Linked DNA regions of Homo sapiens: all the other regions are linked to region 2. Evidence: promoter capture Hi-C in 16 types of primary human blood cells and fetal thymus (Javierre and others, 2016). All regions are on one chromosome and are shown on one strand. Each heading gives the region's core, a stretch centred on a gene start or on the middle of the fragment in contact. The rest is flanking DNA. Distances are from core to core; before and after follow the strand shown.

Evidence for each region. Contacts are between HindIII fragments. The CHiCAGO score rates a contact against its expected background, and 5 or more counts as called.
Region 1: the fragment with the promoter of PPAN here is called in contact with the fragment with the promoter of HNRNPM in region 2 in 2 of 17 cell types (total CD4 T cells and naive CD4 T cells); the score reaches 5.8 in total CD4 T cells.
Region 3: a contact is called between the fragment with the promoter of ZNF846 here and the fragment with the promoter of HNRNPM in region 2, in 1 of 17 cell types (M1 macrophages). The highest score is 5.6, in M1 macrophages.

What each region holds. Positions count from the first base shown.
Region 1 is chr19:10,104,866-10,108,729 of GRCh38, reverse strand. PPAN (peter pan homolog) reads right to left here and starts at 2,368. Exons shown (of 12, transcript NM_020230.7): 1 at 2,318-2,368; 2 at 2,059-2,229; 3 at 1,124-1,225; 4 at 876-926; 5 at 596-766. The coding sequence starts at 2,335. PPAN-P2RY11 (PPAN-P2RY11 readthrough) reads right to left here and starts at 2,368. Exons shown (of 13, transcript NM_001198690.2): 1 at 2,318-2,368; 2 at 2,059-2,229; 3 at 1,124-1,225; 4 at 876-926; 5 at 596-766. The coding sequence starts at 2,335. It overlaps SNORD105 (small nucleolar RNA, C/D box 105), which reads right to left and starts at 1,079; the gene lies at 995-1,079. It also overlaps a transcript of ANGPTL6 not described here. RefSeq lists enhancers at 156-799, 2,442-2,491, 2,088-2,731 and a silencer at 2,172-2,221. The HindIII fragment of the contact is 12,960 bases long and covers 1-3,864 here.
Region 2 is chr19:8,443,226-8,447,308 of GRCh38, reverse strand. It overlaps HNRNPM (heterogeneous nuclear ribonucleoprotein M), which reads right to left and starts at 2,334. Exons shown (of 16, transcript NM_005968.5): 1 at 2,198-2,334. The coding sequence starts at 2,310. RefSeq lists silencers at 1,826-2,055, 2,296-2,575. The HindIII fragment of the contact is 1,747 bases long and covers 946-2,692 here.
Region 3 is chr19:9,765,870-9,770,220 of GRCh38, reverse strand. It overlaps ZNF846 (zinc finger protein 846), which reads left to right and starts at 1,483. Exons shown (of 6, transcript NM_001077624.3): 1 at 1,483-1,932. RefSeq lists enhancers at 1,199-1,418, 690-1,555 and a silencer at 1,499-1,668. The HindIII fragment of the contact is 9,482 bases long and covers 1-4,351 here.

The sequences.
Region 1 (3,864 bases), core at 1,119-3,618, 1.7 Mb before region 2:
CCCAGGATGGAGTAGAGTGGCGTGAACACAACTCACTGCAGCCTTGACCTCCTGGGCTCAGGTGATCCTCCCACCTCAGCCTCCCCAGTAGCTGGTACTACAGGCATGCACCGCCACACCGGGCTTTTTAAAAATCTACTTTTTGTAGACATGGGGTCTCGCTATGTTGCACAGGCTGATCTCAAAGTCTTGGCTTCAAGCGATCCTCCCACCTCGCCCTCCCAAAGTACTGGGATTACAGGCCGAAGCCATAGCACTGGGCCCGCAGCTTCCCTCTGTAAAACAGGGCCCTAAGAAGAGATGCTACGATCCTGCTCAGCCCAGCACTCAACACACGTGGGAAACAGAGCTCCATCAGTATTTCTTTCCACCGGCTGGAAAAGGTGCAGCTCACGGGGTGTGGACCGCTGGGGGAATCTCTGGACACTTTTGCCCAGCATCATCAGACACAGGAGTGGGATTTGACCTCAGGACTCAGCAGACCCAGGAGCTCCCAGTCTCAGCGCTGGGAGGAGTGAGCAATCCATCTGAGGGCCTGTGGCACCTCTATCCGCTGCACCCCCCCATACCTGCCACCTCGCCAGGCCAGACCCACCTTGTGCACGTTGATGGAGGGGAACAGGTTCTGGAACATGGTGGCCATGAGCTTCACATGCATACCATGGGGGCCAAAGCTGTTGAGTACCAGGAGGGGTGGGTGGGCAAACTGCTGCTCGTGCATGCGGTGCCGGCGCAGTGAGGAGACCACATCACGCACCAGCGAGTACTGTAGGACAGGAGAGAGGAGGGGGTGACCACCAACCACACATGGCTGCGGACAACCCCAAGTCCAGCTCCCACCCCACATGGCTTTGTACCACCTCCACCCCTCTCACCTTCTTGACCTGGAAGGTCAAGGTGGGGCCTCCTGGGAGGCGCATCAGCTTCTGCAGGAGAAGAAAAGATCAGTGACTCTGGAGGGGTCTAGCAGAGGTGCCCGGAGTAGGCACCTTTGCCCCATCTCTTCTTCAGAGCGTTTACTTTGAAGCCAGAAATCACAGCAGCTCAGAGGCATATGTGTTCATCATGAGAGATAGGGGAAGGGGGGGTCTGGGGGAGATGAAGGGTGAGGGCGTCTACTCACAAAGTAGACATTGGTCTCTGTTTTGCTCAGGATCAGAAAGTGTGTGACCCCGAGGGGCCCAGCCACTGCCACGCAGTCCTTCAGCGAGTTCTTCTTACGAACCTGGAAATGACAAAAAGAAAAAAAGAAAACATAGCTTATCCCTTGTTGTGACAACTATAAGCTGACGGTGCAGATCCTGTTATGGTCTGTCTTGCATCTGACCCTTTCAACAAGCCCAGAGGAGCAAAAGGATCTTAGCCTTTAGAGTCAGTCGGACGCAGATTTGAGTTCTAACTCTGTCTCTTGCTCACAGCGCATCTTCCCATTGACAAATGAGCGAACTCAGGCCCAGAGAGGTTAAGTAACTTGCATCAGATACTGGGGAGAAGTCAGTTTCCAACCCTGCTTTGCTGCCTCCAGATTCTAGTCTTTTTTTTTCTAACACGGTCTCCTCCGGTCGCCCAGACTGGAGTGAAGTGGCACGATCCCGATTCACTACAGCCTTAATTTCCTGGGCTCAAGGAATCCTCCCACCTCAGCCTCCCGAGTAGCCGGGACTACAGGCACGCAACACCATATCCGACTAATTTTTCTATTTTTTGTAAAGACGGGGTTTCACCATGCTGCTCAGGCTGGTCTCGAATTCCTGGGCTCAAGTGATCCTCCCGCATCAGCATCCCCAAATGCTGGGAATACAGGCATGAGCCACCACGCCCGGCTCCAGATTCCAGTCTTAACTGTCAGGCTTAGGCGACTATCTATCTCCCAAGCTGCGCGCCCTCACTCCAGCCCAGCAAAAGCCCTGAAAGGCAGAAATGATGCTCCCCATGAGGGTCTTTTTTTCCAGCTGGGGAGACTTAAGTCCTCCCACAGTTTTACAGCGGGAGCCATTACTGCAGCTACGAAGACTAGGCCGAGGGTGGGTGGAGGCGGGCTGGGGGTGGGGTACAAACCTGCAGACGGCTGGCAGTGAGCGGCTCCATGACCCGCCGCACGTCCAGGCTGAGCTGCCGGATGTTGCGACCCGTGCAGCCTCGCGTGAACACGAACGAGTGCGGGTTCGCGGCATAGGCCTCGAGGTTGCGGAGCTGCGCCTGGGCGCGGGCGCGCTTCTGGTGCCGGGACTGCGGCGACGAGAGACAAAGGGTCAGCGCCGCGACCTCGGCCGGGACCCCACCTGCGCCACCTGCCTCCCAAGCTGCCGGGCCTTACCCTCCCTGACTGTCCCATGCTGCTGTGTCCTCCACGAGGCCTCCTGCGTCCGCCGCTTCCGGCGCTGCGCAGCTCACTTCCGGCGCCTGAGAGCCGGCACGGCGTGGGACGACATCAGGCGGGCCTGCGCACTAGGTGGCCTCTGGGAGCGGGGAGGGGCAATCAGATGGAGCGGTTGCTATGGAGACACGGGTGCCTGTTTCTAGGGAGACCGGGGCGGGGCTACGCGGCTCCGGGCTGCAGAGAAACGAATCCGCCGGTTCGAATCCCGCTTCGGCCCATTTCCTCCAGCTGGGCTAAAACCACTTTCTGCATTCCGAGGCTCCTAAAATATCCCAAAGTAAGGCTGATAATGTCCCCCGGGCCCACGAATTAGGAGCGACCATGTATGCACAATGTTGGGCGCTCTGGCGCCAAGTACTTGGGGAGAAGCCACCGGAGGGAATGACTGTGGCAATCATTCACTTTAGTCTCGCAACTCCTCTGGGCCAGCTGTCCTCCCCGGGTACCCCTGTCTGCAGACAGGCTGAGGGATGGAAACTCCACATCACCTTCTGGAAACTCAGGGCAAGGCGGGCGTTTCGTGAATAACTCGCCCCCTCCTTCTTTCCGCTCAAAGCCTCAGTCTTGGCCTCAGGCCTCTGGCTTCTTCCCCAAAACCTTGCAGTGGGGGAAAGGGACACCCCCTCACTGGGCTGAACATTACTCTCTCCTCCCCCATCGGCCTCCTCTCCCTCCTTGCTCTCTCTGGCACCCCAATTCTTCCTCCTCTCCCCCAGATGTGTCTCCCCTCCCCCTCGTCTTCCCCCTGTCTCTTTCTCCCTCTTGTAACTTTGTCTCTGTCATCAGTTGTCTCTTTCATCATTTATAACTGAAGATGGAAACTAAAGAAGTTTCCTTTCTCTGTGTCTGGCCCCATCCCTGTTTCTTTCTTCTCATCTGCCTCCCTGTGGTCTCTCCCCATCTTCCCATCTCTCTCTGTCTCTCCCCATCTCCCCGTCTCTCCCTTTCTCTGCCATCTCCCTATGTCTCTCCCATCTCCCTATGCCTCTCCCATCTCCATCTGTCTGACTCTCTGTATTCTTCAGCCCCTCTCTGTGACTTATGAAGTTCCCTCCCTCTCTACTGCCAATGGGGAAGCCAGAGGGGGCTGAGGGTGGGGGGCCGAGGGGCCCAGTGTGGGGGCCCCAACCCAGGCCCAGAGCCCAGCCTGGCAGCCTCTCTCAGATCTGGGACGACCATTTCCTTTTTCAACCCTGGAGTCCACTCGAGTTACTCGGGAGCTCAGGATGGTGCAGACCAGGGGAAGGAGGTGACTCTCCCGGCGTGTGGCTGGTCGTCGGTGGGGCCTTTGGACAGGTCTCAGACCCTGGGCCTGGGCTCTGTGGGGCTCTATGTGAGTTTCTTTGTACCCCTGGGAAATGACTGCATGGTTACTTCCCCCAGTTCCGTCCTCGTGTGATTTGACTTGTGTGAAAATGTGACCGAGTGTGTGGGAGACAGACGGTGACCTCTGTGGTGCGGTGGATAGGTTTCCGGGTGTCAAC
Region 2 (4,083 bases), core at 1,085-3,584:
CTTCTAAAGAGATTTCCTTAAGACTTGTAATGAAAAAAAAAAAAAAAAGTTTTCCACAGGCCCTATCAAAAATATCCAAGTGTTGCCAGCTTCCTAAACTATCCTCTATGAAGCTAGTACTAGACTTTGAGACTTTGAGCCTCTTTCTCACAACGGCTATTTTATTCTACAATTTTCAGGTTCCAACAGTCCACATGTATTTGTAAAATGACTCAGTCACAAAATGACTATTTGAAAATGGACAGGGGAAAAGGGAAAATTTGTAATCTATTAATTTACCCTATCATCTAGCAAGGTTCTACCAGCACTCCTTCCTGCATACGGTAAATAAATTTATCTTAAAGCCCTCCAAATACCACCCTCAGAAATCCTACCAGCTTCCGTAGATAGACGCTGAAAAAGTCAAAATTAACACATTCCTTCCCAGAGTTTTCAATAGTAAAATGCTGGGAATAGAGGAAGTTTTTCTCATTTCTAAGGGCCAGTAACCATGGTATTTTATTTCTCCCTACTTAAGGAGGGAAAGAATCTGGAATTTTCTCCGGATTTATTATCTACCAATATAGCTAGCACTTAGGGAACGTTCTTAACCTAAGCGCTCAACTAGGCAGGGCGCAGTAGCTCATGCCTGTAACTTCAGCACTTTGGAAGGCCTAGGCAGGAGGATGGCTTGAACCCAGGAGTTTCAGACCAGCCTGGGCAACACCCGGAGACCTCCTCTCTTCAAAAAATTAGCCGGGCATGGTGGTGCCGCGCCTGTGATCCCAGCTACTCAGGAGGCTGAGATGGAAGGATCGATTGAGCCCAGGAGTTCGAGGCTGCAGTGATCTGTGATCGTGCCACTGCATCCCAGCTTGGGTAACAGAGGGAGACCCTGTCTCAAAGAAAAAAATTAAATATATAAGTGCTCAACCGCATTCACTTTTAATCTCCATAAACTAAGCTTCACACATTACAATATGAGGAAGGCAAAGTCACAGACAGAAAGGAAAGAAAACGGAGGGAGTTAGTATTTAATAGCTACACTTTCTGTTTCCGATGATGAAAAAGTTCTGGACATGAAGCAGTGACGGTTACAGCACACTGAGTCAGTATACTCAATGCCACTGAATTATACGCTTAAAAAATGGTTAAAATGGCAAAGTCTACGTTATGTCTATTTTACCACAATGAAATAAATGTCTGGGAAATTCAATGTGTACCCAGGCTTCCCCTTCCTTCCCGGCCGCTGATCTTGGAGCCAAAACCTCTCTGTCTCTCTTAAGTGTCTGTAATCAGAATGAATGAGTTTCACCGGGGCACAAGTCGATGCTTCCTCCTTTAAAGAAACTTTTAAAAGCCAAGGAGTCAAAGAGCCCCAAGCAGGACTCGAAAAGCTGATGAAGTCTGGAAGTAAATGAACCCGCCTCCTGACAGAACAGCTTCCCCGAAACACGGGAAAAAGGGGATTCCTCCCCCGACTTCGTATCTGTCTGCTTCCGAGGGTGAACGCTAAGCAGCAGATCCCATCTCTCCACTAATACCTGCGGCGCACCCGGGGAGGAGGAGCGGGAAACGGCGAGGGACTTGAGCCAGGGCCAGAGCGTGGGGCGAGGGGCGGTTCCGAGGGAGGCACTTCCCGCGGAGCGCGGTCGGCGCGCGGGGACTAAGGGGCGGGGCAGGAGGGGAGCCCCCCGACCCGGCTTCGCGGCCCTTCCTGACGCTTCCCTCGCTCGGTTACCGTTGACTCGGGCTGACTGCGCGCGAGGCCTCCCGGGCGCGCACCCTCTCTCCTCCCCCCACGTTACGGATCAGAAAACAGACCCCGGGAGGAGAGGGGACGGGGGGCTGAAACCCGGCCCCCGAGGTCACCCTCCCGGGGAGCGGTCGGGTAGGCCTCGGAGGCTCTCCGGTCCGGGCCCGCGCCATCAACCCCCATGCGCAGCAGCTGGGCCTGAGGCCTCGACTACGGGGTTGGCCCCGGCCTGGAGGGACTGAGGGTGGCGAGGCTCGAGGCCCGGTGTAGGGGACGATTCTGGAGGCTCCCCCGGCTCCCCGCTCACGGCCCTAGACGCCGCTACCCTGAGCAGGCGGTACGGGAACAGCCGGGGCCGAGGCCGCGCCGGGGCTAGGCCGCCAACAGACCTAACGGAGCCGCCGCCCGCGTCGGCCGCGGAGAGGAACCCTTACCCGTGGCAAAGGACCGTGGGATACTCACCCCTTAGGGCCCGGAGCCCCGTTGCCGCTCGGCACGCCGGGCGCGCCGCTCTCTTCCTCCATTTTGATCTCCGTCGCCGCCACCTCCGCCGCCGCTTCGACCCCTGCCGCCATTTTCTCCGCGTCTGGGCTTTGTGTGAGCGAACGGGCTGCACCGCGCTGCGCCTGCGCGCCCACGTGACCCGACGCAACCAGTAACACCTGCGCCCGCCGCTCCCGGCTGCCTCCTTGGCCCCACTCGCCCCGGGCCACGCCCCCGCCGCGCGCAGGCGCAGACCGGCAGCTGTTGATCGCTTCTCTCTCGAGATACACTCGCGTTAGGCACCGACTGGCTGTTCCCGGCGCGCGTCCTCTGAGTCCGATAGAGGAGGCATCTCCCCACCCCACCCCACACAAACACCTAGACCTAGTCACTCTCAGCTTTCTGTAACCAGAGCTGGAGCAGAGGGGAAGCAATGATCCTGTCTAGAGATTCCTGGAAGTTTTAGATGAAGCTTGTTCAACCCGCGGTCCGGCACACGATTCGTAAACTTTCTTAAAACATTGTGTCTTTTTGTGTGATTTTTTTCTTTTTGTAACGCAATTGCGCGGTTCTCCAGCGCGAACTTTGTAGGCAACAACGGAACGGCATGGAATAATATCAGAGTATTATCCGTAATTCGCATTATAATTGCAAACAGTTCGTCCAGAAGAAACGGAAAACTGTTAAAATTCACTAATAATGGGGCCAGGCGCGATGGCTCACTCCTGTAATCCCAGCACTTTGGGTATGGGAGGCCGAGGCGGCGGATCACCTGAGGTCAGGAGTTCGAGACCAGACTGGCCAACATGGTGAAACCGCGTCTCTACTAAAAATAAAAAAATTAGCTGGACGTGGTGGCGGGCGCCTGTAATCCCAGCTACTCGGGAGGCTGAAGCAGGAGAATCGCTTGAACCCAGGAGCCGGAGGTTGCAGTGAGCCGAGATCACGCCACTGCACCGCAGCCTGGGAGATAGACTGAGACTCCATCTCAAAAAACAAAAAGATAAGTATTGAGTACTGGGCTTAATACCTGGGTGATGAAATAATCTGTACAACAAACCTCCATGACAAGTGTTTACCTATTTAACAAACCTTCACATTTACCCCCAAACCTAAAAGTTAAAAACAAAATTAAAAAAAAAATTAATGGCTGGGCGCGGCAGCTCACGCCTGTAATCCTACCACTTTGAGAGGCCAAGGCGGGTGGATCACGAGGTCAAGAGATCAGACCATCCTGGCCAACATGATGAAACCCTGTCTCTACTAAAAATACAAAAATTAGCCGGGTGTGGTGGCAGGCGCCCATAATCCCAGCTACTGGGGAGCCTGAGGCAGGAGAATCGCTTCAACCCAGGAGGAGGAGGTTGCAGTGAGCCAAGATCGGGCCACTGCACTCCAGCCTGGTCACAGAGTGAGACCCCATCTCAAAAAAATTAAAAATAATAATAAAGAGCGAGAGGACTCTTGCAATGTTGCATAAAGTGAACTGTGACAGAATTCAGGGTGTATTCTGTACTAGGCATAATGCTGTATGGTCTTATTTTTGTGTGCATTCGTGGCATCAGTTTTATGGTGCTGTGCAGCCTCCAATGTGCCATTTTCCAAGTGCAGACAGTCGAATTGGCACCATCAGATGTTACGTGTGCTTGTGGCAACTTGGGCAGTAAGATGCAGCGATTATCTTTTTGAGACGGAGTTTCGCTCTTGTTGCCCAGACTGGAGTGCAATGGCGCCATCTCGGCTCGCTGCAACCTCCGCCTCCTGGGTTCAAGCGATTCTCCTGTCTCAGCCTCCCGAGTAGCTGGGATTACAGGTGCATGCCACCACGCCCGGCTAACTTTTGTATTTTTAGTAGAGACAAGGTT
Region 3 (4,351 bases), core at 234-2,733, 1.3 Mb before region 2:
ATGGCTAGGGTACTGGGTTTATTTTTGTGGTCATGAAAATGTTCTAAAATTGATTGTGATGATCGATGCACAAATATATGAATATACAAAAAGCCACGAAACTGTACACTTTAAACAGGTTAATTGTATGCTATGATAATTGTATCACAACAAAACTAAAGGCCTAAAGAAGGAACTGAATGTATCAGAGGCACAGAGCATTTTATGGATTAACAGGTTAATCTTTTTTTTTTTTTTTTTGAGACGGAGTCTCACTCTGTCGCCCAGGCTGGAGTACTGTGGCATCGTATCAGCTCACTGCAACCTCAGTCTCCTAGGTTCAAGCAATTCTCCTGCCTCAGCCTCTCGAGTAGCTGGGATTACAGGCGCCCACCACCACACCCGGCTATTTTTTAAAAAATATTTTTAGTAGAGATGGGGTTTCGGCATGTTGGCCAGGCTGGTCTCGAACTCCTGAACTCACGTGTTCCACCCGCCTCGGCTTCCCAAAGTGCTGGGATTACAGGCGTGAGCCACTGCCCCCAGCCCCATCAGGTTAATCTTTCAAACAGGGTGTCGCTGGTCTCGAACTCCTGGGCTCAAGCGATTCTCCCGCAGTAGCTAGGACTACAGCGGGATTATCTTTGTAAATATGTTTATATCCCTGCAGAGGGTTGAAGAAACAAGGAGAAAATCCTGCAGAAAAGAATTTCCCTAGGGTGGTGGCTCACGCCTATAATCCCAGCACTTTGGGAGGCCAAGGTGGAAGGATCACTGGAGCCCAGGAGTTCCAGATCAGCCTGGGTAACAAAGAGAGACCCTGTCTCTACAAAAAAATAAAAATAAAATAAAAATAAATTAGCCAGGCGTGGTGGCACACACCTGTGGTCCAAGCTGCTTGGGAGGCCGAGGGGGGAGGATCCTTTAGGCTCAGGAGTTCGAGACCAGCCTAGGGAACACAGTGAGACCCAAGTGTCTAGAAAAAGATAACTTAGCTGGGCGTGATGGGCCCAACTGTGGTCCAAGCTACTCCGGAGGCCGAGGCGGGAGGATAGCTTCAGCGCAGGAATTCCAGGCTGCAATGATCTATGACCGAGCCACTGCACTCCAGCCTAGGCGACAGACCGGAGCCTTATCTCAAAAAACTAAAAAGAGAAATTAAAAAAGAAAAGAAAAGCACTCGATGAGCATCCCGCTGTCTGCAATCGAAGCCTTAGGTGACGCCTCCACGCGTGCCCCGCCCGCTGCGCCAGTCCCCGCCTCCAACCCGGCCCTTGGCGCTGGGTTTCCTGGTCCGGCGTCGTTCCCAATATCGACAGATTGATCTGGATCCTGGTCCACCTGGGATGCGAGAAAACGGGACTTTTCTGTACGCGTGTCGAAGAGGTGGCCCCAGCTCTTCTCTCAGCTTCACATCATCCTCATTCCAAAGCTCTTGGGGCTCGGCCCCTACACTTAATGCCGTGCGCAACCGGAAGCGGAAGTGCCAGCCGGCGCGCAGCTATACGTATTCCCCGCTCTCCAGCAGCTTCCTAGCTGGGTTTTCACCTCAGCCAGCGCTCATGCTCAACCTAGGCAGGGCGGGGCAGGAGGGCCTAGCGGGAGGCGGAGCGAGGGTCGGAGGGTGACGCTCCGGACTTCTGCTAGGTCTGAGACGCGCCGGCCTCCCGCTGCTGCTCCGGAGAAGCGGCGCCTCCTCCCCGCCAGGACCCCGAGGCGGGGGGTTCCCGCCTTCTCTTCTGAGCGCCTCTTCCCGCTGCGCCCGCATCAGTCTGGGCCTGGCCCAGGGTCCCCGGTGGAGACGTGTTTTTTTCTCCAACCACCGTGCCCCTCTGTTTAAAAGCAGCCAGTCAACCTTTGTGTCCTTTCTCCAGAAGGAAAAGCATCTCAGCTGTTGTGGAAAAGGGCCCCAGCGTCCTCTTGTCACCGACAGGGCGATTGCAGTGCGTTCCGGTGAGCCCTGGACGGAGGAGATGATCTGGCTGTGGGAGGGCATCGCTTATTGAAGTTTGCGAAATTGCTCAGCAGTTAAATGCTTTGTCAAGTGTGCAGGAGTTGTAGGTTTATAGAAATAAAAGCAAATATTGCCACAGTTATAAAGCAAAGTAGCAATACTCCGCTGTGTTTTTGAGATCAAAAGCAGCTGAACTTCCTAGGTCAGTACCTCCCAAAGAGCTTCAAAACGGAGGGGCTTCCAGGAAGTAGGATGCCGCCTTCATTATACCAGTATCAGAAATTACAGTTGTATTAACTGTGAAAGAGACATGTTTTGATTCAGCGTTTTTCCTCTCGTATATATACATATTTTGAGACGGAGTTTCGCTCTTATTGCCCAGGCTGGAGTGCAATGGCGTGATATAGGCTCACTGTAAACTCTGTCTCCCGGTCCAAGCGATTCTCCTGCCTCAGCATGCTGAGTAACTGGGATTACAGGCATGTGCCACCACGCCCGGCTAATTTTGCATTTTTAGTAGAGACGGGGTTTCACCATGTTGGTTGGGCTGGTCTCGAACTCCTGACCTCGTGATCCACCCTCCTCGGACTCCCAAAGTGCTGGAATTACAGGTATAAGCCACCGCGCCTGGCCTTCCCCCTCATATATTTTTATTTATTTATTTACGTTTTAAAGACAGGGTCTTGGTTTGTTGCCCAGGCTATCTGTAGATTGAATATTCTAAACCAAAGAAAATGTGAAAGGCCAGAATATTGAACACCTATTATATATCCTTGTTGTAGACTGATCATTTGTTAATATTTTGCATGTTTTCTGTTTCTTTGCATCTCTTGTGTAGATCAATGTGTATTGGCCGGGTGCGGTAACTTAAACACCTGTAATCCTGGCACTTTGGGAGGCCGAGGTGGGCGGTTCACCTGAGGTTGGGAGTTCCAGACCAGCCCGACCAACATGGAGAAACCCTGTCTCTACTAAAAATACAAAATTAGCCAGGTGTGGTGGGGCATGCCTGTAATCTTAGCTACTCGGGAGGCTGAGGCAGGAGAATCGCTTGAACCCGGGAGGCAGAGGTTGTGGTGAGCTGAGATCGTGGCAATGCACTACAGCCTGGGCAACAAGAGCAAAACACCGTCTAAATAAATAAATAAATAAATAAAACTAGGCCGGGCACAGTGGCTCACCCCTGTAATCCCAGCACTTTGGGAAGCAGAAGCAGGAGGAGCCACTGAAGCTATGAGTTTGAGACAAGCTGGGACAACATAGTGAGACCCCATCTCTACAAAAAAAAAAATAAATAAATAAAAGCATAACTAAAGTCAGTGACAATATCAAGTCTTCTTTAAGATGTGCATGCATTGCTGAAGAGAACACTTTTTTTTTTTTTTTTTTGAGACAGAGTCTTGCTCTGTTGCCAGGCTGGAGTGCAGTGGCATGATCTCGGCTCACTGCAACCTCCACCTCCCGGGTTCAAGTGCTTCTCCTGCCTTGGCCTCCCGAGTAGCTGGAACTACAGGTGCATGCCACCATGCCCAGCTAATTTTTGTATTTTTAGTAGAGATGGGGTTTCACCATGTTGGCCAGGATGGGTTTCACCATGTTGGCCAGGATGGTCTCCATCTCTTGACCTTGTGATCCACTCACCTCGGCCTCCCAAAGTGCTGGGATTACAGGCGTGAGCCACCATGCCCAGCTACATTTTAAAACAGTGACAACTAAATATGGACTTGGTGATGCAACATGCATACGTGTGCCAGGCTAAATGTAAAAGTTATTTATCACATTATTTGAAATAGCCTAAATTAGGAACAACCCAAATGTGGATCCACAGAATGGGTGAATTGTGGCATATTTCTGTGGCTTTTTTTTTTTTTTTTTGTGACAGAGTCTTGCTCTGTCACCAGGCTGGAGTGCAGTGGCGCAATCTTGGCTCACTGTAATTTCTGTCTTCCTGGTTCAAGTGATTCTCTTGCCTTAGCCTCCCGAGTAGCTGGGATTACAGGTGTGAGCCACCCATTTTTCTTTGTATTTTTAGTAGAGATGGGGTTTCACCATGTTGACCAGGCTGATCTTGAACTGCTGACCTCAAGCGATCTGCCCACCTCGGCCTCCCAAAGTGCCGGGATTACAGGCGTGAGCCACCATGCCCAGCCTCTGTGGCATATTCTTCAGCAAAGATATGAACCAAATCACAGGTGGATGAACACAACAACTTGGGTGCACCTCACCAGCATAATGCTGACTGAAAGAAGCCAGACACAAAAGTATTCTTACTGTCTGATAGTTGCTAGGCAAAGTCAACTAGAGTATTTTTTCTTTTATTCTTTGTTTTCATATATGTGTATATATATATATGTATATTTATTTGTTTATTTATTTATTTAATAAAGAGACTTGGTCTCACTATATTGCCCAGGATGG